7 separate regions of the Homo sapiens genome follow, and regions 1, 2, 3, 4, 5 and 6 are each linked to region 7. The links are contacts of gene promoters, found by promoter capture Hi-C in human tissues and cell types (Jung and others, 2019). All regions are on one chromosome and are shown on one strand. Each heading gives the region's core, a stretch centred on a gene start or on the middle of the fragment in contact. The rest is flanking DNA. Distances are from core to core; before and after follow the strand shown.

Region 1 (3,599 bases), core at 507-3,006, 340 kb before region 7:
ACTAGAAAGCGTGGGCTTCCACAGGGCAGAGGAAAATGGCCCAGGAAGAAGGGGTGAAGCCTCCCTCAAAGACAAAGCGTGCTATAAGGGATCCCAAATCCAATCAAGAACCTAAATCCCAACTCCATCCTCAATGCAGTTTCTCCCCCTCAATTCTTTTATTTTGTTAATGTCTTCATCATCTGTCAGATACTCAAGCTTGAAGCTTCACGGTTACATGTGACTTCTTCTCCCTTATCCCCCATTTCTGATCAGCTGTCAAGAGCTGTCAGTTCTATCTCCTTTACTCCTTTTCTTTCTGCCTCTTCCTCTCCATTCTATTTGCTGTCAGCCTAATTCAGACCCTCATTAACTCTTGTTGGATTATTAACATGGCTTCATCACTGGCCTATTCATCTCCTGCCCCTATGCTGTCCAACCACTCTATTAATTGCTGAATTGATTTTCTTTTTTTTTTTTTTTGAGATGGAGTCTCGCTCTGTCGCCCAGGCTGGAGTGCAGTGGTGCTAACTCGGCTCACTGCAAGCTCGCCTCCCGGGTTCATGCCATTCTCCTGCCTCAGCCTCCCGAGTAGCTGGGACTACAGGCGCTCGCCACCATGCCCCACTAATTTTTTGTATTTTTAGTAGAAACGGGGTTTCACTGTTTTAGCCTGGATGGTCTCGATCTCCTGACCTTGTGATCTGCCTGCCTCGGCCTCCCAAAGTGCAGGGATTACAAGGCATGAGCCACTGCGCCCGGCCCGCTGAATTGATTTTCATAAAGCACAGCTCCAATTCTGTCACTTCCCTGCTTACTGAAAAACTTTAAAAGTCCACTTTCCCTACAAAAACACATCACAATCCCTGTCTTAGATTTAAGAACTTTTGTGTTCTGATTTCCCCAGCCTTATCTTCTAACTCTCCCCTGAATATTCTCATTCTCACAAGACTTCTCAAAATTCCCCATATATACCCCACGTTTCCCTCTCTGATTCCTATCCAAGAGTTACTCTGTACCTGGAATCCCTCAAATCTCCATTTCCACCTACCATTTATCCTCTTAGATCCAGCTGTTATGTTATGGCCTTGGAGGACATATTCACCAGTTGTGATCTATCCATCTTCTGAAAATCCAGTAAGTATTACCTTTCTGCTGTTGCACAAACATCTCTATTTTTCAATTATAAACCATAGCTTTCCCACTGTATTCAACTCATTTTATCCATTAATTATACAAATATTTATTGAGTGGGGTATTATTACTGCTACAGGCACTAGAGACATCATAATGGATGTACAAAACAGACCAAAACCCCCACTATCTTAGAGCTTACATTTTATTAGAGGAGAAAACAATAAGATTAAGAAGAAAAATCTGTAATATATTAGGTAGTGGTGAGTACAATAGAGAAAAGAAAAATCTGAGAAAGGGAAAGGAAGTGTTAGCTCAAGGGGTTTGACATTTTAGATGCAGTGGTCAGGAAAGCACTCATTGAAAAGATGACTTGAAGTGAAATTCTGAAAGAAGTGAGAGAGCCAACCATGCAGATATCTTGAGGTAAGAGTACTCAAGGCAAGGGAAACAGAAAATGTGAAGGCTTTGGAGCAGAAGCTTGCCTGGTGTGCTCAAAGAACAGGAATGGGACCTGCATGGAATGAACATAACAGAGTGTCCCTGGATGTAAAGATTGTAATTAAAGACAATGATGGACATAGAGTAGAATATCCCCAAAAGCAGACATAAAATAGTATCTATTGAAATATTGAACATTTTAAATATATTTCTGTGCTTTTATGTTGATATGGTTTGGGTTTATGTCCCTGCCCATATCCCATTTCAAATTGTAATCCCCAATGTTGGACAAGAGGACTGGTGGGAGGTGATTGGATCATGGAGGACAAATTTCCCCCTTGCTGTTCTTGTGATAGTGGGTGCGTTCTCATAAGATCTGGTTGTTTAAAAGTGTGTAGCACCTCCCCCTTCTCTCTCTTCCTTCTGCTCCAGACATATAGGACATGCCTGCTTCCCTTGCACCTTCTGCCATGATTGTGAGTTTCCTGAGGCCTCCTCAGCCATGCTTCCTGTGCACACTGAGGAACCACAAGCCAATTAAACCTCTTTTCTTTATAAATTATGCAATCTCAGGTAGTTCTTTATATCAGTGCAAGAATGAACTAACACAGAAAAGTGGTACCAAGAGTAGGGTACCTGAAAATGTGGAAGAAACTTTGGAACTGGGTAATGGGCAGAGGTTGGAAGAGTGTGGAGGGCTCAGAAGAAGACAGGAGGATGAGGGAAGGTTTGGAACTTCCTGGAGACTTGTTAAATTGTTGTGGCCAAAATGCTGATAGCGATATGGACAATGAAGTCCAGGCTGATGAGGTCTCAGATGGAGGTGAGGAACTCATTGAGAACTAGAGCAAAGGTCACTTTTGTTAAGCATTAGCAAAGAGATTTCAGCCGTTATGCCCATGCCCTAGAGATCTGTGGAATTTTGAACTTGAGAGAGATGACTTAGGGTATCTGGTGGGAGAAATTTCTAAGCAGCAAAGTGTTCAAGACATGGCCTGGCTGCTTCTAACAGTGTATGCTTATATGTGTGAGAAAAGAGATGATCTAAAACTGGACTTATATTTAAATGGAAAGTAGAACATGAAAGTTTGGAAAATTTGCAGCCCAGCCATATGGTAGAATATTAAAAACCCATTTTCTGGCGAGGAATTCAAGCTGGCTGCAGAAATTTGCACAAGCAAAGAGGAGCCAAATGTTAATAGCCAAGATAATGGGGAAAATTCCTTGAAAATTACAAAGACCTTCACTGCAGGCCCTCCCATCACAGGCCTGGAGGCCTAGTAGGGAAGAATGGTTCTGTGGGCCAGGCCCTGCTGCCCTGCTGCCCTGCACAACCTAGGGACACTGATCCCTGCAACCCAGCCACTCCAGCTCCAGCCATAGATAAAAGGGCCTAAGATACACCTTAGGCCATTGCTCCAGATGGTGCTAGTTGTAAGCCTTGGTGGCTTCCACATGGTGTTTAGCCTGCAGGTGCACAGAGGGCAAGAGTTCAGGTTTGGGAGCCTCTGCCTAGATTTCAGAGGAATGTATGGAAATGCCTGGATGTCCAGGCAGAAGTCTGCTGCAGGGGTGGAGTCCTCATGAAGACCCTCTATTATGGCAGTGCAGAGGGGAAATGTGGGGTTGGAGCCCCCACATGGTGTCCCCACTGGGGCACTGCCTAGTAGAGCTTTGAGAAGAGGGCCACCATCCTCCAGACCCCAGAGTGGTATATCCACTGACAGCTTTGCACCATGGAAAAGTTTTAGGCACTCAATGCCAGCCCTTGAGGTCAGCCATGGGAGCTGAGCCCTGCAAAGCCACAATGGTGGAGCTGCACAAGACATTGGTAGGCCACCCCTTGCAACAGTGTGGCCTGGATGTGAGATATGGAGTCAAAGGAGATTATTTTGGAATTTTAAGATTTAATGGCTGCCCTGCTGGGTTTCAAACTTGTGTGGGGCCTGTAGCCCTTTTGTTTTGGCTGATTTCTCCCTTTCAGAATGGCAGTATTTAGCCAGTGCCTATACTCTCATTGTATCTTGAAAGTAATTAACTTGTTT
Region 2 (3,740 bases), core at 338-2,837, 410 kb before region 7:
ACTAAAAGTACTTATACTTAAAGAATGTTTTGCTATTCCCAATCCAATATACAATCCCATTAGAAGGTAGGTTAATAGATAGCCCCAGTTCAAAAAAGAACTGCTATTACCCTCCATTTTTCCTCTCTCTGAATCAGAGATTCTCTTGACAACTATCAACAGCCCAACCATAAGATACGAATGGAGATGGTAATCATGCCACAAAAAAAGCCCAGCAGCCCCATGGGGGTGCCTGGAATGGTGAGATTCCCATGTTCCCTTCCAGGGCATTTTTCAATCTAGAAACATTCTATTTCAGCAATCTCTCCTTTCAGACCCTTTTCCATCTGAGCACCTATCCAGACATTAAAATTCGTATCTTCCTTTAAGAAATCTCCGTCACAAAGCCATCATCACCCTTGGCTCCAGCATAGATAAGTCTTACATGTGTGATCAGAAGTACCCTGGAGGGAGATAGGAGGTGGGGGAGAAACTAAAAGGGCATAAACAGAAAGTGTTCCTCAACATTTTCCCCCATTTTCACCTGATTCAGAAACACCTTGAGTTCATTACCAAATCCAGAAATTATTTAACACAGATGTACTTAAGGAGTTCTTGCCTTTTTGTCTGTTTCTCAAGTTGCCCTTCATCACCCTGAAGTCATGACCAGGTTTTTTAGCAGAAAAAGTCAACACCTGCAGCAGGCTTGGCCAAGGACTGAGCTCATCTCCTAGTCACTGGCTCCAGGTTCAGGTGCTGCTTCCTCCCACGCTTCTGCATGTCCTTGGTTTACAAAGCAGATCCTACTCACAGGGAGCTCAGGGAAGAACAGTTCCTTCATATTCAGCTCTTCCAAAGACAGTCTTTGGATAGGCGGCTGTAGCCAATATAGCACAGTATTCAAACCATCCTCTCCCAAATTCACATTGTTCTGCATCCCACCACTAATAGATTGTGGTGTTCCCAAGGGCTATGTTTTTAATTAACTCAATATTTATTGATTTCTATTGTATGGCAATCATTATACTTTTTTGTCTTTGTAATACCAGGTCTTGGTCATAAGAAGCATATAATAAGTGTTTGTTTTTCAATAAATGAATATTTCCTCACCTAGAAAGTGAGCTCTAAGAGGTCAGGAACTTGTGCCTGACACCTCCTGGGTGCTTAAAAATTCTTCGTTAAAATTAATTAATTAGTTAACTCGTGAGTAAATAAAATAATCAACCCATACCAAAAAACTTTGTAGCTGACAGTAGCAATAAGTAATACATCTGTACAATGAAAATATTTTGACTTTTGGAATTAGACCCAGATCCAAATTCTAGGTTTATCTATATGTCCCCATATATAGAAGGAAATCGTATTTATCTGATTGAATCATGAGGATTTAATGAGTTATTAAACATAAAATGCTTGGCATATTTAATGGATATAAAGTGCCTGGCTTTTCTAATGAGTCAAAGATGCTAGTTTCTCACCTTTATCTCCTGTTTCTGAATCTCAGTTCGTCATCCTTAAAATGACAATAATAATGGCTACTTCATCATGATGTTGTGAAGATTAAATTGCTGTGGAAAGTTCCTGAAACAGTGCTCAGCAAAAATCATCTCTATTTTTCTTACATTTCCCCTAATTTCATTATGTAGCTAATGTGTGAAGCTGGAAGAAAGAAGTGGATTAGCCATTCTTAAGAGTCTTGGGACATGTGTTTCTTAATCTTCAAGACTCCCTGGTCTTCAACCCTTCAACAGCTCCCTGGAAGAAGAGGTTGTAACCAAGACTGGTTGTGTCCTGAAATTGATGCCTCTCTTTTTCTCCAGTCTAGAAATCCCTGAGATTTAATACAAGGATTCTCAGAATAAAACTACATTCCCCAGCCCCTCTTGCTGTTAGCTGTGGTCATGTGACTGAGTTCCAGCTGACGGATTATGAACAGTAGTGATGAATGCACATCTAAGTCCTGCCTTTATAGGGGAGGAATGTGTGTCTTTCTCTTTCCCACTTCCTGTATCTGAAACGCAGACACAGTGGCTAATCATCTTAGACAATGTGGACAAGGGCACTGACCTCTGGAAAGCAGACAACAAGATAATAGTAGCTTAGTCCTTCCTGCTGCTATAACCAGGGTCTCAGGAATTTGACAGGAATTGGTGCAGGAATGTCTCAGTCTATTACTAAGTATTAGTAATACTCAATATTATTGCCACTATTACCCCAGACTATGTCATTCATAAACAATAAAAATGTATTTCTCATGGTTCTGGAGGCAGGGAAGTCCAATACCAAGGTGCAAACAGGTCCAGTATCTGGTGAAGGCCCTCTATTTGCTTCATGGGTGACATCTTCATCCTGTGTCCTCATGTGGTGAAAGAGTTAAGGGAAGCTCATTCCAGTCTCTTTTATAAAAGCACTAATCCTATTCATGAGGATGGAGCCCTCAAGACTTAATCATTTCCAAAAGTCCTGACCACTTAATACTATCACCTGGTGTATTGGGTTCTAACATATAAATTTTGGGGGTATACCAACATTCAGATCATAGAAGTAACCTAACTCCCCGAACCATGGAGAAATCATGTGAGCCCCTGAATGCTTATGTTCAGCTATCTGAGAGAGAAAGAAATGTTTCTCTTGCTTAAACTACAGATACTTGAGTCTTTGCTGTTTCAGATGAAACTAAATCTGATCTAATACAGAGGCATTAGGAGATCTTCGAATATCCAGGCATTGTTAATGACAAATCCTTACCTTAGGCACTTTTTAAGCCTCCCCCATAGGGATCCCAGCCACCAGGCAAGGCTAATCTGCTTGGTCGGCACTGCCTGCTCACCCTCTTACTGGCCCGCCTACCCAGAGATTTAAAGTTCCCACCTAGGCAACCAACCAGAATCCAATCTAGCCTTGAAAGCCCCTTCCAGAGCCAATCTTGTCAATGAAGCTTTCCCTGCTGAATGATAGCTCTCTGGGATCTCTCCCTTGTCTGAGCTCCATAGCAGCTGACTAGACCATCTGTTGTTTGGTTCCAACCCCATTCTGTTTTCTAGCCCATGGGTTTTCATCCCTATGCCCTTCCTCTTTATATTAACAAATTCATTAAGAATAAGATCCATGTTTTAGGCGTTTTTATCAGATGTTTGTATCTTTATCTGATTTTGGAAGTCATTTCTAACCATGAAGCATCATACTCTGTACTCTAGAAGTAAAGTGGACTTTAGAGATTGGTTTCTACATCTTCCTAAATTGTGATGTCTTCAAAGGCAAAAAAAAACTGTGTCACAATGAGCTCTGTGTCCACAGTAACTGATTCATGCATGTACCTCAGTCAATGCTTACAGATTGATAGATAGATGAATCTTAGCAGGCCCCCGTCATCTAGAATAATGTCTTGTCCTTAATGCCTACATGCCTCTATAAACTAATTACTTAATGTGGGTGTTGCCAAGGAAAGAAACTGTGAAAGGAAAATAAATTTTGGGTACCCCAAATCACTAAGCTAAAGGGAAAAGTCAAGCTGGGAATTGCTCTAGACTAACCTGCCTCCCATTCTATTCAGTCACCCCTCTGCTCACTGAGACAAATGCATATCTGATTTTCTCCTTTGGAGAGGCAAATCAGAAACTCAAAGGAACACAACCATTGGTCTCTTACCTACCTATGACATCCCGCCTTTGCTTCAAGTTGTCCCGCCTTTCCCAGAATGAACCAATGTTCATCTTACATATGTTGATTGATGTCTCATGTCTCCCTAAAATGTATAAAAC
Region 3 (3,555 bases), core at 546-3,045, 460 kb after region 7:
AGTCCTTCCATGTATTAGATATGGCTGTTAGTATCAAAGACATGTCACTAAACATGGGGTCCTGCCTCACAGAGTTCACACTCTAGTGGATGATGACCTAAAATAATAATAAACATAAATTATGTATGGTTTTAGAAAGTGGTGAGTGTGTTAGTGGGGTAAAGAAATTACAAGACAGAATCAGGGATCAGGGGCCTTGGAAGAGAGGACACTATTTTAATAGAACTGACCATTTCAGCCTCACTGGGGAGGTGATACTAGAGCAAAGATTTGAAGGAAATGAAGGGGTGCACCTTGTGCATCCCAAGGAAAGAAGATTCAAGGCAGAGGTAACAGCCAGTATAAAGGCTTGGAGGTGGGAAGGTACCTGGTTTGAACTAGGAGCAGCAATGAGCATAGAAAAGCCTAGTAGCAGATGACAGGAGGGACTTGCCAAGGCACAGATCATGCAGGATCTGGTAGGGCACTAAGGACTTTGGCTTTAATTTGAGAAAAACAGGATGTGATTAGAGGATTTTGAGCAGAAGAGGGACATGATCTGACTCACACATTAACAAGATCATTCTGGTTGCTGAATTGAGGGTCATGTTTTATAATGAATATTGTGAAAACATTGCTTAAGAAGAAAACCCTCAAGTGAGAAAAACAAAATTGAGCCTGATTTTGAGAATTTAAAAAAATCACCTTGTACAATCCAAAGCTTTAATTTATGGGACTGTTTCAATGAAACTTCATCATGACCATCAGCAAGATGGCAAGTCCAGGAGTTATTGACTTTAGTCAGTTATTATTGGAGAGGAGGAAAGCTTATTGACTTGGGGGGAATATCACCATTAACACTACTACAGTAATAGCAGAGCTTGATAAAAGCGTATTTTGCTCCTTCACTGACCTCAGTTGAAAAAGCATATTTTCAGTATCATAAATACGCAATAGAACAACCACAGGAGCTGACAGCTGAGAAATTATTACCACTGCTCTGTAATGCCAATTTTAAAAAATTCTGCTTGGTATAATTTTAATTAAGTTGTAGTAAATAGGTATTCTTATTAATAGTTCAGATTTATTCTTGTATACTAAGATATTTGTTTTATGATGGTGATATTCAACTTCAGCCAATAGTGATTTAACACTCAGCCATTTGGCATTTGGCCAAAATGCAAATTTGGTGCAGGTTGAACAACCTTAATCTAAAAATCCAAAATCGAAATGCTCCAAAACCCAAAACTTTGAGTAATGACATCATGCCATAAGTAGAAAATTCTACTCTTGACCTCATATTATAGGCCAGTCAAAACACAGCCAAAAATTTGTTTCATGCACAAAATTATTTAAAATATTGTATAAAATTGCCTTCAGGCTATATATATAGGATGTATATGAAACATAAATGAATTTCATGCTTAGACTTGGATCCCATCTCCAAGATATCTCATTTGGATGAGATACTGAACTTGGAATATGCAAATATTCCAAAATCTAAAAAAAATCCCAAATCCAAAACATGTCTGGTCCCAGGCATTTCGGATACAGGATACTTAATCTGTATAAGTCAGACAAAATGTTTGTGCCTCCTAAAACTGATAGGTTGAAGCCCTAACCCCCAATAAGGTGTTGTTTGAAAGTAGGGCCTTTGAGAGGTAATTACGGGTTTAGATGATGTCAATGAGGGTGGAGGGCCCCATGATGAGAATGGCATCCACACAGAGGAGAAACAGACACCTTAGCTCACTCTCTCTGCCATATGAGAACACAGTGAAAAGGTGGTCTCTGCAAGACAGAAAGAGCATCCTCATTGGAACTGACTCAGCTGGCACCTTGATCTTGGATTTCCCAGCCTTCAAAACTGTGAGAAATAAATGTCTCTTGTTTAAGCTACCAAGTCTCCAGTAATTTGTTACAGCAGCTGAGGCTGACTAATACAGCATATATCTAAGGGTATGTGTGAAATCAACATTTGAAAACGATTTCTAATCCATACAGCCTTGGAAATAATATTTCAGGTTTTACTTGGCACCTGGTGATCCAATTTTTCAGTTTAAGTGAGGAGTTCCTAATCACTTAAAGAGAAAGAGAAGAAGCTGTTTTCCATTTCCTTCAAGTTTGGGCCAGATCAGGGAGATGGGGCAGAAATCACGGGAGCCAGCTGATGCTTACACCAGGGACCCTGAATAGAGCTTGCAGAGGAGGGTGAAAGAGCCACACCATCTGAAATCTTGGCCAACGCTAGAGGGTAGCAGAAGTCATAGGGCCTTATTCAGGCAATCAGAGACTTTAACTTTTAAGTTCAGGGGTACATGTACAGGTTTGTTATATAGGTAAACTTGTGTCAGGGGGCTTATTGTACAGATTATTTTATCACCCAGGTATTAAGCTTAGTACCCATTAGATATCTTTCCCAATCCTCTACCCCCTCCCATCCTCCATACTCTCACAGGGTCCCGTATGTGTTGTTCCCTTCTATATATCCATGTGTTCTCATGATTTAGCTCCCACTTATAAGTGAGAACATGTTGTATTTGGTTTTCTGTTCCTGTGTTAATTTACTAAGGATATTGGCCTCCAGCTCCATCCTTGTCCCTGCAAATGACATGATCTCATTCTTTTATACGGCTGCATAGTATTCCATGGGGATATATACCACATTTTCTTTATCCAGTCTACCATTGATGGGAATTTAGTTTAATTCCATATCCTTGCTATCGTGAATAGTGCTGCAATGAACATACGTGTATCTTTATAATAGAATGATTTATATTCCTCTGGGTATATTATACCCAGTTATGAGATTCCCGGGTCATATGGTTTGGCTGTGTCCCCACCCAAATCTCATCCTGAATTCCCACATATTGTGGGAGGGACCCAGTGGGAGGTAATTGAATCATGCAGGCAAGTCTTTCCCATGCTGTTCTTGTGACAGTGAATAAGTCTCACGAGATCTGTTGGTTTCAAAAAGAGGAGTTCCCCTGCACAAGCTCTCTTTGCCTGCTGCCATTCATGTAAGACATGACTTGTTCCTCCTTACCTTCCGCCATTATTGTGAGGCTTCCACTTCCAGCCACGTGGAAGTGTAAGTCCCATTAAGCCTCTTTCTTTTATAAATTGCACAGTCTCAGGTATGTCTTAATCAGCAGCATACAATAATACAATAAACTGTATTGTATAAATACAATAAATTGGTACTAGGAGTGGACTAATACAATAAATTGGTACTAGGAGTGGGGCGCTACTGAAAAGATACCCAGAAATGTAGAAGTGACTTTAGAACTGGGTAACAGGCAGAGGCTGGAACAGGTTGGAGGGCTCAGAAGAAGGCAGGAAAATGTGGGAAAGTTTGCAACTCCCTAGAGACTTGTTGAACAGCTTTGACAAAAATGCTGACAGTGATCAATAAGGCCATCAAAAAATTTGCAGCTTGACAATGCGATAGAAATGAAAATCCCATTTTCTGGGGAGAAATTCAAGCTGGCTGCAGAAATTTGCAGAAATTTGCATAACTAACGAGGAAGGAAATTTTCATCTCCAAGGAAAATGCCTCCAGGGCATGTCAGAGAG
Region 4 (3,845 bases), core at 339-2,838, 370 kb before region 7:
CTGTTTCTTGTTTTTCTACCACATCTTTGCATCTTTGCATTTTTGGTCCCATCTCTCTTGACCTTGAACTCAACGTACATGCCTTATCTCTCATGAGTTCTCTGTGTTCGGTCTTGGGAAAAGAGAACAGGAATTTTCTTCCAGTGAATTCTGGAATCTTCATTTGTCACCTTTCTCCTCACGTTTTCCTTGCTGGAAGCTGCACACACATACTCACACAACACGCATGCATCCCTTTGCCTTCTGTGGATAAATAAGATTTTGTGTCTCAGAGCACAATGCTCTCTTGGGCTCTACCTTTTGGTGATATTTTTGAAATCAATTTAAAGTACCCTTGATATCCCTTGAAAGTTTTGTAAGATTTAACCCCTTAGGGGAAGAGTCAGAGGGCCTCTCTTTACACCTTACATCCCTCACCCTTTCAATCCCTTGGGTAAGAAGAGACATCTGAAAGGTTGAGATGCAGTCTTTACTCTGAGAACCTCCCTCCAAAACTGCTTCAACTGCTGACAGCTCACAAGACAGAACGTTGAGTTAATACCCAATATTAAACAAAGTCAAAAATCAAATACATCAATCACCTAACTAAAAGCACATTTCAAAGGAAGACATAGCCAACTGGATGGCAATCCTGAGCAACACTTGCCTTGGCAGGTATCTGATGAAGACACTGCTCTGTCTTGCTTCCAAAGTCCTTCTAAGCAGGCAGCTTGGCAGGCCAGTCTTGGATGGAGAGGGATGCCTCCAGTTTCCGGAGCCAGAGCTGAGGAAGGAGAAAGTAGACCACCTGCAGGCAGTACAACACTACTTCATACTTCCCTAATGCCTCACTCACATTAGCACACTGATCTTGCCTATGACCTTCACTGAGCTAGATCAAGATCCCCATGCTGCAGTGGGAAAACAAATATCCATTGTCTACTGATACCCACTGGGTCACTTTTGCTTTTGAATTCTTGAAATCTGGATTCCCTCTCAGTGTCCTCTAGGTTACCAGTACACTTATCCCCTCCAAATCAGGGCATAGTTGCAACTAAGCAATTAAGAGAAGACTGGAGACCAGTGGGATTGGAAGGTAATGGTGTCACTGGAGTTTCTAGGCTTTTATCTATCCAGACCTCTCCAATGTCTTGTCATGCATCAATTCTCTCATCCGATCTTTTTGGGAATGCCCTCATCCTGGGTTACCAAGGAGCACCTGAAGCAGAGGATAAGTGAATGCCTTTCTCAAGGCACAGGGCAAGACATTGGTGGTCTTGATTTGCTCCATCAACCCCACCTCCCAGATTTATGTTTGAACTGTTTGATCCTGGTGCTCACATGCAGGAACAGGACACTGGAGTGTGAAACGACAAAATACACCTCTTTCCTAAAGCAAAGCAATCTATCTTGAGCACAAAGCTTGTCATGACACTAAAGCAAATCAGTGTAAACAAGGGCAGAGATGAGAACCATAATGAAGAGTTTGAGAAATTGTAAAGTGGTCCTGAAAGGAAGTGGTACCTCTTGAGAATAGTCCTATAAAGTGTATACCTGTCACTAAAAGATGCCCAAGACACTGACCTTAAGCCAATTACCATGTGTAGATCTGCTGTAACCAAAGAAGGTCACAGATATTCGATTCTGCAAAAAGCAGCTTTTAAAAATAAAAGTCAATTCTTGGCATGTGTTGCAATACTTCCCCTGTTCCAAACATAATACTGAAGCCACCCACAGGACCGCTGTCTTAGCCAAATACAGTAAGGAAACAAGCCTTCTCGGGAAAGGCCCACATGAATAGTATCCAAGGGCCAAGGTCAGGTATCAATGCAAACCGGCTGCAAAATCTCCTCTTCTAGCACCACTGGGCATACTGTAGCTGAGTAAGCCAGCGATACTCTGTCCAGCTTTCTCAAAGTGCTGCTCATAAAGACAATTCCATAGACTACAGGGACAGATGTCCGCTGGCACTCAGAACTTCAGACTCTGGGGAAGGCTCTGCCCAGTTTTTGCCTGTGAACTCAATCTCTATAAAACAGAGTTATGGCAATTGAGAAAAAGGCCTCTCATACAGTCTCCATGTAATCCAGAGTATCTGCTTTCTGAAATAATTTACTGATCTTTTCCCTATACAATTTTTTTTTTTGAGACAGGGTCTCACTCTGTTATCCAGGCTGGAGGGAGTTCAGTGGTGTGATCACGGCTCCCTGCAGCCTCAACCTTCCAGGACCAAGCAATCCTTCTACCTCTTTCCCCCAAGTAGCTAGGACCACAGGCATGCACCACCATCCCCAGTGAACTTTTTTATTTTTTGTAGGGAAGAGTTCTCCCTATGTTGTCCAGGCTCGTCTCAAACTCCTAGGCTTAAATGATCCTCCCACCTCGGCCTCCCAAAGTGCTTGGATTACAGGCGTGAGCCACAATGCCCAGCCCTATAATTCTCATTGTCATAGCTAGATCATTACATGCAGGAGGGCAGAGACGATCCAGCTCTAGAAGCAACTTTAAGCCATTAGGACTGACTGCTTCCCTCCAAACTTACCACACACTTGGGTTCAAAAAAACGGGACCATATTTCAATGTTTTGCATTATTCATGCCATAGTCCTGAACTATTCACTCTAATTCATCTCATTTCTTGTTTCCTGCACTATTTTTCCTGGCTTTTAACCTTCTAGTCTGTCTTCTGACGGATGATCTTTCCTTGCTTCTTGAATTGGGTCCTGAACCTGAGACCTTCTTCAGCAGTGGGTAAGAGAACTGGCTTTGAAGCCAGTTTTTCTTTCTTTTTTTCATATTATACTTTAAGTTCTAGGGTACATGTGCACAATGTGCAGGTTTGTTACATATGTACACATGTGCCATATTGGTGTAACTCATCATTTACATTAGGTGTATCTCCTAATGCTATCCCTCCCGCCTCCCCCACCCCACGACAGGCCCCAGTGTGTGATGTTCCCCTTCCTGTGTCCAAGTGTTCTCACTATTCAGTTCCCACCTATGAGTGAGAACATGTGGTGTTTGGTTTTTTGACTGGATTAAGAAAATGTGGCACATATACACCATGGAATACTATGTAGCCATAAAAAAGGATGAGTTCATGTCTTTGTAGGGACATGGATGAAGCTGGAAGCCAGTTTTTCTAAATTCAAATCCTGATGCTGTCATTTATTAACAGTATGATCCTGGACAAGTTATTTTAATTTTCTAAACTTTAATTTTCTTAACTGTAAAGTGGTGCTCATAATAGCACCTACCTCTTGGTCTGCAGTCCAGTGCTCCTGGCCGGGCGCGGTGGCTCATGCCTGTAATCCCAGCACTTTAGGAGGCGGAGGTGGGTGAATCCGCTGAGGTTAGGAGTTCGAGACCAGCCTGGCCAACATGGCAAAACCCCATCCCTACTAAAAATACCAAAAAAATAAAATAAAAATAAATAGCCATGCGTGGTAGTGCACATCTGTAGTCCCAGCTACTGGGGAGGCTGAGGTGGGAGAATCACTTGAACCCAGGAGGCGGAGGTTGCAGTGAGCCAAGATTGTGCCACTGCACTCTAGCCTGGGCAACAGAGCAAGACTCCCTCTCAATAATAACAATAATAATAACAATAATAGCACCTACCTCTTGGAATTCTTGAGAAGATAAAATGGTTTATATCCAAAACAATTAGAACAACAACCCAGCGCAGCTGAATTGCTCAATAAATGCTAGCAGTTGTGAGGCATTTTTCAGCCACCTCTACAGCCATGTGGACACTTTAGTCAGCCTGAGAGAATACCCAGTACAGGTCATCTCCCAGATATTTTATACCTGATAATCCATGCTAGGTTCACTCAAGCAAACAGAGAAGAAAGCATTTATTTCTCTTTG
Region 5 (3,905 bases), core at 540-3,039, 420 kb before region 7:
TGAAGATAAATGGCTTGTACATGATAAATATTTTTGGATGGATGGATGGGAGAATTAAACAAAGAGAATTAAACAAAGAATTAAACATTGAATAGAAACCCAGTGGTAGATCACTGTCCATGTCTCCTATGGGTCTGTCAGGACTGGCTGTCTTACTGGTAACATGCAATACGGTGTTATAATTAAGTGCACTGTCTTTGGATTAGGTGGCTTAGGCTCAGTCCTCCTTCTACCACTTACTAGCTGTGTGATCTTGGGCAAGTGACTTGTCCTCTCTAAACTTCAGTGTATTGTCTTTAAAACTAGAAATAATAATAGCACTTAAACTAGGGGTAATAACAGCATCAACCCACAAAGGTGTTGTGAAATAATGTACCTGCTAAGTACAATGTTCAATGCATAAAAATGCCCAATTAATAGCAATTATTTCACAGGAAATAATATCAGGTTTGGTGGCTTGAAACTTGCCTTCCAATATCTTTTGGGGTAAAACTTGACAGGCATTTTTTTCTTCCAAAAGGCAAGACTTTGGGGAACATGAGAGGCAAATGGCAGATTTTATTTAGACTGGCAAGGAAGAAAGAAAGGGAGAGAGGGAGGAAATATAAAAAGATAACCTTTCCTCTTCTGAAAATCACACATCAATTTTTTTTTATACAAAATAGGGTCCTTCTCTATCATCCAGGCTGGAGTGCAGTGGCATGATCATAGCTCACTATAACGTCAAGCTCCTGGGCTCAAGTGATCCTCCTGCCTTGGCCTCCCAAAGTGCTGGAATTACAGGTGTGAGTCATCACACTGGGTCATAACATTTCTTTATATTCATGTGACTCCAAAGGTTTAGCTACCAGTGATGAAGTTATCCCAATTACAATTCTTAGACAGGAAAGGAAATGCAGTCAACTTCTGAGAAAATGGGTTGACTCTCTAGAAAGTCTGGAGGGTGTAAATGGCCCATGTTCTGAAGAGGGAACATTTCAAGCTTATGAGCTAGGCTCACCTCAACCAAAGAGCTCAGCTAATACAATATATCCTTAGAGCTTAGTTTGTTTCTGGACATTTGGATTATTTATTTATTTAAGTATTTATTTTAGTGCATCAGAATCAATGTAGTACATCAGAATCAATGTAGTACATCAGAATCAAAGAATTGAACTAAAATGAAAATCAAAGAATTTTAGTGCATCAGAATTAGTATAGCACTTTGAAGTTAGACAAACCTTAATTTGAATCCCAGCTCTAACATTTAATAGTTGCATGACCTTGGGCAAATTGTTGACAGCTGTACACTTCAGTGTGTTTGCGTGTAAAGGGGAGGTGATACTGTTACCTTTTACATCCACATGTTGGGATGATTAAACAAGGTCATATGTATAAAGCACTCTATTCAAGACCTGACATACAGTAAGCACTCTATAAATATTGGCTATACTTATGTCTCATTGATATTATTATTTTCATAATGTTTCTTGTCTACTTCCTTAATGAAGTGCGTAATACTCTTCTTGGGCATTAACACAGGCTCCACCTGGCCTGTAAGTGAAACAGGGAGAGCCCTAGGCTTTTGCTTTGTTTTGCACAGAGCCTGCACAGAGCCCACCCAAGTAAACAAAATCTCCTCTTCTTTCTCTCCATTTTAATTTTTCTTTTATTCCATGCCCTATGAATAGATTAGTTTCTTTCTCTCTCTTTGCCGAAATACCTTCAGGCCTCCTCTCCTCCCTTCAGGCAAAAGTCCTTAAAACCTCCACTTTCCCCCAGTAATATTTTTCTCCAACTAACTGGAAGTGGAGAAAGATTTTCCTCTTTGTCTAGCACTGATTTTTGACTTGTAATTCCATTTCAACAAAACCACTTGCACTAAAGCTTACACACAATGTAAATAATTCATTAGAAATATATATTTGCTTGATGCTTATATACTTGCAGTGCATCTGCAGAGTCTATTGTATCAGTCAAGGAAATAACAGGACTCCCAGTCACCAAGGTGAATGGAAAATTTTCCTCTTTAAATAGGTAAAAATTTAAGTTGCATGCAAATTAATCTTGGAAATACAGAATGCTAACATAGCAGGGGACTTTAAAATGTGTATATTCTAACACTCTCTATAAATGTGGAAAATAAGTCCCAGAGCATGGTAACATGGCCATAACAGGCCTTGTAGCATTCTGGAATTTAAAAGGCTAGGTGCATAGAAGGGAAAATAGATACGAATGGCAAAGGCAGGTACATAATGCCTAAAACCAGGATGTGGTGTAGCAGTTACCATCGTCATCATCATCATCATCACAATGACAATCAATGGTAATGGCTACAATTTGGGAATTATGATCTTGGCACTAAGCAGAGGTCTTTACATTTATCTAGAAAGATGACCATGGGTAACACTGCATAAGACTGACTGATTTAGACTTTGAGAATTTTGCCAGTTTTGGGTGGCTGTGAGATATCTTGTCTGACCATAGGGCTAGATCATACAGCTACAAGAGAAGGTGGGATTTCTTCAGAAGGGAATGGACATTGCCACTGTAGTTCATCCCAGGCATTTTTCAACCTGGAAAGGGAATAGCTACACTCCAGTTAGAGGTCCTAGGCCAAGGCAAAGGAGAATCTCCTGCCCCACTCTGGCACCGAGAACCAGTTTGGTTTCTACTCCAAGGATGGGTGATATCTGAATTCCTCCCTGTGTGGTGGGAACCTACCATGGGCTCCATAAGAGCAGGCTAGGAATAAGGTTCATTGAAGGATGCCAAATAAAAAATCTTGTGGCATGTATAAGTTGTCCTCTGTGGTGTTTTTCAGTTCCATGCCCCAGGACTTCAAGACACCGATCTGCAATTGTGCCAGAGGATGTTAGAGAGGCAACTATGCCCTTGCTTGGGAGAAAACCACATGAGCAGACCATGTCTTTTCACCCAAGGCCAGAGGAGAGGAAGCAGAAGACACATTTCCCGGTGCCTGATTATTCCTTCCTCCAGGGCTTACGGTTGTCATTTTGGGCCATCTCACATAGAAGAGGTACCCAAATGTTTGTCATCTCTCCCTGAAAGCGTGTCTAGTCCTCAAATAGAGGAAAGCCATCACTATCTCTCTGCCTTCTCCATCGAGACCAAAAAGGAAGATACAAGCTGGGAACTAGATTTGAATATTTCTTGATACTGGAGAGGGGCAGGGTGATGTGATCTCTGGTGAGTTTCCTCCTCAAGCAGGGGTGCGGGTAGCCTGGGTTTCCTGGGCCCAGATTTCAAACCTGTGTCAGCTGTAGCTGCACACAGAGTGCCCAGAGCTGTTGGGTGCAGCTTAGGTATGGCAGTATCAGTCATCTCCACACCTGCTGCAGAAAGTCTCAGGACAGCACTGTGAGTGGGGCTGGGGAATCCGGAGAAGAAAGTTCTATAAGCACAACACGGTTTACTTTACAGACAGCTTGCTACCACATAACGATTTGGGTACAACCCATGAAAGGAGCCCCGCGGGAGTAGAAGAGGGTATCTCCATGTCTCTCTAGGAGACGAACAAGCAATATCCACTGGAATCCAGAGGCTAAAAATTGTGATGTCCCAGGCCTAAGCTAGACAGAGCAGAGAATGGGCAGGACTTGCCCCTAAAGTATGGGCAGTTAAACAAGAGGAGGAAAGAAGAAAAAAAGAAAAGAAAGGAAACACTAGGCCCAAATTGATTTACCGGTGAATTCTACCAAATATTTAAAGAAGAATTTAAACCAACTCTACATTGCTTACCAACTCTTTCTATGAGGCCAGCATTATTCTGATAAAGCCAGACAAAGACATTTCAAAAAAAAAAAAAAAACTATAGGCCCATATTCCCCTTGAAAATAGATCCAAAAATTCTTAAAATATTTAGCAACAAAATGTTATGGTCCAACAGGGCTTTGATCCGAAGA
Region 6 (3,719 bases), core at 418-2,917, 440 kb before region 7:
GGTTTTATTCTGGAGAAAAGCAGAGCTAATCAGCTTGCTCTATGATATGGTTTGGCTCTGTGTCCCCACCCAAATCTCATCTCAAATTGTGACTTCTCCCTTGCTGTTCTAGTGATATAATTCTCAAGAGATCTGGTTGTTTTGTACATGTGTCGCCCTTCCCCTTCGTTCTGTCTTTCTCTCCTGCTGCCATATAAGACGTCCCTTGCTTCCCTTTCACCTTCTGCCATCATTGTAAGTTTCCTGAGGTCTCCCCAGCCATGCAGAACTGTGAGTCAATTAAACCTCTTTCTAAATTAGCCAGTCTCAGGTAGTATCTTTAAAGCAGCATGAGAATGGACTAAAACATCTCTAAAACAGAGACATTATGAAAGGTTTTCAACTGGAGAACCAAGTCCTATAACTTGGTCGTTGCTATGTTTAGTGCCTTGATGAGAAAGACTGTGAAACTGAGGACAGGCTCAGCAGGGAAGAGGGATGTGATCCATTCTTGATGTGTGTGGTGAACTCAGGAAAGGCGGCAGCATCATGTATAGTATCTATTTACCTTCCCCACCCTTGAAGCTGCTAGAACTCTATCAGCATTTTCATCTTTCTTTGTACCATTTGGTCTGTCCCAAATCACAGAAGATAAATATTGAGCAAGCAGATGAGCAGAAAAACAACTTGGGCTCTTTCCCATGCCTCTACTACCTGTCTGTATCACATGAAGCTTTTTGAAAAAGGTCACAGAAAATGATTTTGAAAAGAGGCCCAGTAAATATTTTGGTAATGTTTTGGTGTGGGCTTTGTTTGGCCTTTTTGTCTTTGCTGAACTCCGTGGCTTGGGCTTTTAAGATACTTTTACCGTCAGAGTAATATTATTTTGATAACCCACTTCCTCGTGATGTTTGAAAGATGGTTAATTATTGTAGGGGGTGTAAATACAGTGTCAAAGTAAATCATTACAGGATTCTTTGGTCAGGCTCAAGGTTAAAGGCAACCACATTTCCCAACAACAGAGCAACATAATCATTCCTTTTCCCACAGATAACTACAGTCTTCCTGTCAGCCTACAGGAATCCCATCCCCTTTCCTCCAGTGTAACCGGACTCCCTGCCACAGAGAAACAACACTCTCCTCTTCAGCTTTGCCACAGGGTAATCAGTCATTGGTACACCAGCTTGATCCCCAAATGCTGCAGTAACCACAGAAACCACACAGAATGTGGACTGACCACGTGGTTGTGGACATAGTCATCATTTTTAACACAGAGAGATGAAGTCACTCCATCTTTTCTCTGATGCAGTAAAACATTAAAATACAACATTGGAAACAAATGCTTTTCCAATGTAGAAATGTATGCTGTAAAGCCAAGGCTCCATTCTACATCCCTGAGTAAGGGAAGGAAAGACCAATGAGACAAATTCCTGAGAGCCCGTTAAAAATTGGTGTAACCCATTCTCAGAGAAGATAATGGGGAGGTGACACTAAGGGGGTACAGAAGATTGTCATCTGCAGAAAAATCAGGCATGTTTTCCCAGAAGAGAGAAAGATTGAACTACCTCAATTGCAAAAATGTGGGAACCCCAAAGAAAGAGATACAGCAAATTCAAAAGCATTAAGAAATAATAAAGAAAAGAAAATCTTGGCTTTAAAGTGGCAATTTTTTTTTTCTAGTGACTGAACAGTAATCTTCTAAGGAGAATAGTGAGAGCCCCTCCCCAATAGAGTTTTAAGCTTTCACTGTGAAAAGGCTATTCTTGGCTCAGCAACCCAGCTGATTTATTCTCACCTTGAGGCAGTTCTGTAACCTTGCCTTCTACCTCAGCTTCCCAGTCAGCCAAGTGGGACTTCCGACTTGCAATCTGCTTCATTTGCTAGGATGTCATGAAGATTAATTAACAACATTAATATACTAAATGTTCTTTGGGATGGGCAGAGAGAAAGTGTAATTATGACCATTATTGCTCTGGGTTACTAGGCAGAGTATTGAGATGGTTGCAGGGACTGTGCTTGGAAGTAGAAAAACAGGCCAAACGGTGATCTTTGCATGGTTTCAAATGCCCCTGGCCTGAAAGTACTTCCTCTATATTCTTGCCCAGGGACTTAAAATGTTCACAATTATGCTAATATAGCGGAAAGTGCGTTGGACTTGGAGTCAGAAAGCTTGTATCCCATGCTGTCTTTGCCACTTACTGGCTGTGTGATCTTGTACAAACTACTTAATTGTTCCAAGTCTCAGTTTCTTCATCTGTGAAAAATGCATAAGGATACCACCAATGTCTATATGCCTTACAGTGTTCCTGAAAAATCTAAATGAAATGTGAATATTTCTAAAAATTGGACTGACTATACAAAGATAAAATATTATTATCTCCTAGAAAAAAAATGCTGTAACCATTATAGGCTATTTTATCCCCTACTACAAGTTAGTTTATGAGACACAATCCACCAACATAAGTACATCTAAGACAGACAATTTTTGGCTCTAGAGAAAGATCAGAAAGGGTAATATGGTTGTAAAACTGAGGACCTCAGTTAGCCAGGCATCTATGTGGGGTGCTTGGGTGTCAGTGAGAAGTCAGGGAGACATCAAATAGGAGCTGAACCTTTTGTTGTTTCCTGATGTGAGGCCTCCCTACAGGGAATGGAGGGCAAACTTGTAATGACTTACAATCTTTGTATCTTAAAATGTTAGTCCTGGAAAGGAATTAGAGATCATTCTAGTTCAATTCTTTCATTTTACAAAATAGAAAACTAAGCCTCCACCTTACCTTGAAAATTCCCTTCTTCCTGATGCTTAGACCAGGATTATTTCCATTGCACACCATCTCCAATATGCAACTAGTTATTAAGGTCTGTGGGTGCACTTGCATTGAATTATTACTCATACCCACATCTTCCTGACCTGGGTCCAAACCCCCAACATTATAAGTTTGGACTAGTACAACAATCTCATAGTCTATCTTCCTCTATTTTTTTTCTGACCCCTAATCTTCTCTAAACACTGATCCCAGATTAGCCTTCTAAAAGTGTCCACTGAATAATGCCTTATTTGCTCAAAAACCCATTAATGGCTGCTGTGTACAGAAGAGTGGTAGCAATACCTGCCTGCCTTATCTGAGTTATGGTATATTCTCTGTTCCTAAGGGGATGACACTGTATGCCATCATCCCTAGTGTTCCAGTTCTAGAAAGGGATTGACAAAAATGATAAATGCACCACTTTCCTGGGTTTGCTGTTCATCTTAAAAAGAAATCCAATTACAGTTTGCAATTGCATTTTGGTAAAACATAATGAGCTCTCCTTGGAGTTGCCTTATTCAGATCAAATTACTTCTTGGTAATTTAAAGTACATTACATCTCCCAGATACCTCTCAATACACCCACAGTGTTTGAGGCCTTGTGTAACTATTGCACAAACACTGGCCAGTCAACTCTAGATGAGTTCATAACCAAAGGATTATTACATGTTTACCCACATACAAGTCACTCTTCATTTCCCTCATGCAGGGAGGTCAAAGGTCATGTAACTCTGCCAGAGCAAGTTACTTCTCAGGGACTGAAAATGAGAGTTAAGGAGAGCTTTCTTCTAAAAACATTACTGCAGAGAGGTCTAAATGTGTGTGTATGAATGATCAACATTATCAGTCAATGAACTTTCTCGGTCAGTTACTCTCATGTATTGACATAAATGACACTGAGCCATCTGATGACTAATAAAAATGACAAACCCT
Region 7 (4,064 bases), core at 178-2,677:
CAGCATCGCCTGGCCGATGTCAAACCCCACGTCCTCGGTGTAGTCAGGCCAAGTGCCGGAATATAAATTAAAAATTAAATGATTCCTACCATTGTTCCACAAGTGGAGACTCTGCACTTTGGATCTCAAATTGTGCACATACTGAGGTGACAACTGGTCTCTGTCTAAAGTATCCAGACTCAGGACAAAGAGGCACGCCTGGCTGGGGTCCGAGGTGTAGAACCTGGAGCCCTCGATGGCCGCTAGAATGTTTTGGTAACTTTCGGCGATTTTCTCCCCTTTTTGCTGTGGGTATACGTAGACTTTGAAGCCGTTTTTCTTGCAAAGGGTGAAATCGAAGCAGGACTCCATGCGGCACTTCTTGCCTTTGTAGATGCTGGAGTTGGCATCTCGCTTCTGCCGGGGGGAAATGTGCACGCTGGAATCCTCGTTTTCCAATTGATCCCAAGGAACGAAGGGGCGCAGAGCGTCCGGGAAGCGGGGCCAGAAATGATCCGGACTGGGGTGGTGCAAGCCATTCCTACCGCTGTGTTCTTCTCTCCGGCTGTGGCTCCTCGATGCCCTAAACTGCAAGCCTCCGAAATAAAACAAAAGGGCGAGACAAGAGCCAGCTGAGAGCAGGATGAAATAGCGTTTTTTGGCCTGCATGTGTCCTGCCTGGGTCAAGAGGATTGTAAATAAACACAAGAATCACCCAAGTTTCCCAATCAACACTTTCAGCTCCAGTCCGCCATCTTCCCGCCTGTAAAGACTTCAAACTCTCCGCTCCCACCTTCTCTGGATGCCTTTCCCCAAGCCGTGGACTGATCCAGCGCATGTGGGCGATTTCTTTAACTTTCTCCCCTTCGGTCTTTCATCTTTGGGTTGCACAATGCACGGGAGAGAGCGGGGCTGAATATCTCGCACCCAGGGCGGGCGAGCAGCGGACTGTAATTTTCTTGCATGCAACAAGACGGAGGAAAAGAAAGAGAGAGGGGAGAAAAAAAAAGCTCCCGATACCCAATCAATGGCAAGACGAAGTGATTGCCTTGCCTCTCGGATTCCTCTCGGCAGCGTGGAAAATGAGCCCCGGGAAGGCAACTTCAACTCATCCACCACTCTCCGTGCAGAGCACTCCGGTTCCAACAAGTCAGCCGATCCCGGGTTCAGCCGGCTAGTGCATCTTGCAGCTGGGGCGCCGTAACCTCACAAATCCCTGCATCTCTCTTTATTCCCTTCTGCAGCGGCTCCAAGACTCCGGCGGTGTTTACTCCTGCGCTCGCGGGGCCGGCCCCCGGGACGCGCGGCGGCCCGGCTGGAGGCGGCGGCGGCGGCGGCGCTGGGTGGCGGCGGCGGCGCGTCCTCCCCGCGGGCAGTGCCGGCCCCGAGCAGCGCTTCGCAGGCCCCCGCGCGAACGCTGCCGACCGCCGCGTTCGGTCGCCGAATGTTACCCGGTTCTGAATGTTACACTTACACATTCCATTCCCGACACGACAGCGCTGACCTCATCCATCCACGCAGCCCGCGCTGCCATTGGCCGAGCGTCACGTCCGGGGGGGGCGGTGCTTCCGCTGCGCCCATTCATAACCCCCGGCCGCGGGCCGAGGCGCCGGCGCGGCGTTGGGGGCGTAGGGGGCGCAGGGAGCCGGGGCTCCCGGGTTGCAAGCTGCCGGCGGGCTGCCGGGCAGGTGGAGCGCGGGACGGCCCGGTGCGAGCCCCGCGGCCCCTCGGCGCGCCCAGGCCCGGATCTCGGCCTGCGCCGTGCCGGGGACCAGAGGCGCCTGCGGAAACGCGGCGGCCGGGGAAGGAGGCACCGGCAGGGGCCCCGTGCCGCGCGGCCCCGGGCGCCCTGGAGAATCTGGCCTCCTGGGCTGCCTGCCGGAACGCCTAGAGAAAGATGCTTTGAAGGAGGGAAGCAGGGAGGAAAGGAAGACTTCATAGAAAGCGACCGCCGATCCGAAAGCTGCCTCTCCCAGCCCTCCTTCCACTCTCCGAGACCCAGTATTTCAATTTTCTGCTAAGCATTAAAACAATCTCCCCTTACTCCTCCTCTACATAGCACATTTTTTTAAACCAAAGAAACACCCCAATGCCCAACAATAAAGAGGAATTATTACAATCAAGAGGAATTGTTGCAATTCTTCATGCCTGCCTCTGTGCTAAGAGTGTAAGACGGCTATCCTAAATCCTCATTATCTACTTAGGCCGCCTTGCCTGAGCCCCCTCTGTCTATTATGAAGAAAGCTTCCAAGAGATCCAATCACAGAGAAAAAATAAATTTTCTAATGGCTGCAGGGAAACCAGTTAATTTAAGCTTGCCCCAGTCCTCAAAGTGATGTTATTCTCTTGGTGGTGGTGGTGGTGGTGGTGGTGTTAAAGATATCTCTTAAGGACATATGACTGGTAGAATTGCCAACTGTCCCAGCTATAGAAGGAACACTTGCATCAGGAAAACTACCTTATGTACAATTAGTGCCAAATAGTTGGTCCTTCCCTCACTGACCTCCCACTCCTTGGCCCAAGCTCCTGCCACTCCCAGTGGAAGAACTTCATTAGATAACTCAGGTAACCGAGGAGCAGTCCCGCTAAAGATCCTCCAGGTCCACAAAGATGTGCTAGGCTCCCAAACAGTATCTCTGGTCAAAGTCAAACTCCCTGGCCTCAGATCCTGAACACTGCTTTACAGAAAACACCTCCCACCCTCTGGCCTAGCTAAAGTCTCAGGGCTCGGGCAAGCTAGACAGTTGCCTAGGGCAGCCGGCTGTTTAGTGATTGTTTATTATGGGAGTGACTGAGAGCTAGGAGCAGACACTTCCCGGCTTCCCTCAGGCTGCAAAAACCCCAGCGGGGTGTGGATGAAGGGCAGGGTTATAACAAGGCAGTATGAAATGATAGAGTGGAAAGTTTCAGACCTCTGTTGTTTCAGATTTGTTTTAATAAAGCAGGGAAGGGGCATGGGTGGGACATTACTATACATTCGTGAAGCCTCTCCCTATTTCTGACCTGCCAAAGATGAGACAGCTTTTCCAGATTTGACTTGAACCCCCTGCACAATGTAGAGAGGCCTGGGACAGGAATAAGGATTCAGTCATCTTCCAAATACAGTGACAATGATGCAGATAAAGGCAGTGATTGAAACCACATGTGACCCAAAGCTCCCCCCAGCCCAAGTTGCTAAGAACAACAGTTCAAGGCAGGAGGCCTTCTCTTCTGATCAGGGTGCAGATTATCTCAGCCCTGTGAAGTGGGGCTGTGGGACTGGAGGTGCTCTCTCTCTCTCTCTCTCTCTCTCTCTCTCTCTCTCTCTCTCTCTCTCTCTATATATATATATATATATATATATATATATATGCTGGAGTGCAGTGGCAGGATCTCGGCTCACTAGAAACTCTGCCTCCCAGATTCAAGTGATTTGCCTCCCTCAGCCTCCGGAGTAGCTGGGATTACAGGTGTGCACCACCAGCCCTGGCTAATTTTTGTTTATTTTTGGTAGAGATGGGGTTTTGCTGTATTGGCAAGGCTGGTCTCGAACTCCTGACCTCAAGTGATCTGCCCACCTTGGCCTCCCAAAGTGCTGGGATTACAGCATGAGCCACCTCGCCTGGCCCCTCTATATCTTGCCAGTTGTTTTGCATGACCTTAGGGGGAGCTAGCTACCCTCCTTGCTCTTTTGTGTTCTGTTTATGTTTTGGCATGTGCTTCCTGCTTTTCTTGCCTAATTATGGCTAATTTCCTTATCCCAGACCCCAGTGTTACCCATCTCTACTTGTACATCCCAAAGTGTTGTGTACTGTCAGAAAAACTTTGGTGCTGACAATTAGAGAAAACTTGAATTCAGACCCCAGATCTGCCATTTACTAGTACCTTGGGCATGTGGCTTAATTTCAGTGGACCTCCAGTTTCTCGTTTGAAAAGTCAGGATAATAATATCTTTCTTGCCAGCAGTTTTTTTTTTCTTTCTTTTCTTTTTAACAGAGTCTTGCTCTATTACCCAGGCTGGAATGTGCAGCAGTGTGGTCTCAGCTTACTACAACCTCCACCTCCCGGGTTCAAGTGATTATCCTGCCTCAGTCTCCCGAATTGCT

What was found. The method cuts DNA at HindIII sites, captures the fragments that hold promoters and counts their contacts. A contact is called where the count stands out against the background at its distance.
Region 1: a contact is called between a fragment that was not itself captured here and the fragment with the promoter of EXT1 in region 7, in 1 of the 25 tissues and cell types used here (heart left ventricle).
Region 2: a fragment that was not itself captured here is called in contact with the fragment with the promoter of EXT1 in region 7 in 1 of the 25 tissues and cell types used here (aorta).
Region 3: a contact is called between a fragment that was not itself captured here and the fragment with the promoter of EXT1 in region 7, in 2 of the 25 tissues and cell types used here (adrenal gland and dorsolateral prefrontal cortex).
Region 4: a fragment that was not itself captured here is called in contact with the fragment with the promoter of EXT1 in region 7 in 1 of the 25 tissues and cell types used here (dorsolateral prefrontal cortex).
Region 5: a fragment that was not itself captured here is called in contact with the fragment with the promoter of EXT1 in region 7 in 3 of the 25 tissues and cell types used here (adrenal gland, heart left ventricle and lymphoblastoid cells).
Region 6: a contact is called between a fragment that was not itself captured here and the fragment with the promoter of EXT1 in region 7, in 2 of the 25 tissues and cell types used here (liver and mesenchymal stem cells).

Annotation. Positions count from the first base shown.
Region 1 is chr8:117,765,749-117,769,347 of GRCh38, forward strand. No RefSeq gene overlaps it. Among named protein-coding and RNA genes, the nearest start is that of SNORD168, 150 kb to the right of the region's middle. The HindIII fragment of the contact is 3,110 bases long and covers 202-3,311 here.
Region 2 is chr8:117,704,907-117,708,646 of GRCh38, forward strand. The region is part of intron 3 of LOC105375721 (a long non-coding RNA gene); the gene reads right to left. Among named protein-coding and RNA genes, the nearest start is that of MED30, 190 kb to the left of the region's middle. The HindIII fragment of the contact is 3,619 bases long and covers 1-3,397 here.
Region 3 is chr8:118,567,943-118,571,497 of GRCh38, forward strand. All of the region lies in intron 2 of SAMD12 (sterile alpha motif domain containing 12), which reads right to left. Among named protein-coding and RNA genes, the nearest start is that of SAMD12-AS1, 51 kb to the right of the region's middle. The HindIII fragment of the contact is 5,474 bases long and covers 1-3,555 here.
Region 4 is chr8:117,737,568-117,741,412 of GRCh38, forward strand. It overlaps LOC107986970 (a long non-coding RNA gene), which reads right to left and starts at 3,329. Exons shown (of 2, transcript XR_001746051.1): 1 at 3,236-3,329; 2 at 1-763. The HindIII fragment of the contact is 4,228 bases long and covers 1-3,702 here.
Region 5 is chr8:117,687,074-117,690,978 of GRCh38, forward strand. All of the region lies in intron 4 of LOC105375721 (a long non-coding RNA gene), which reads right to left. Among named protein-coding and RNA genes, the nearest start is that of MED30, 170 kb to the left of the region's middle. The HindIII fragment of the contact is 4,702 bases long and covers 1-3,905 here.
Region 6 is chr8:117,668,754-117,672,472 of GRCh38, forward strand. The region is part of intron 5 of LOC105375721 (a long non-coding RNA gene); the gene reads right to left. Among named protein-coding and RNA genes, the nearest start is that of MED30, 150 kb to the left of the region's middle. The HindIII fragment of the contact is 3,719 bases long and covers 1-3,527 here.
Region 7 is chr8:118,110,399-118,114,462 of GRCh38, forward strand. It overlaps EXT1 (exostosin glycosyltransferase 1), which reads right to left and starts at 1,428. Exons shown (of 11, transcript NM_000127.3): 1 at 1-1,428. The coding sequence starts at 648. RefSeq lists silencers at 1,281-1,370, 1,471-1,850. The HindIII fragment of the contact is 7,998 bases long and covers 1-4,064 here.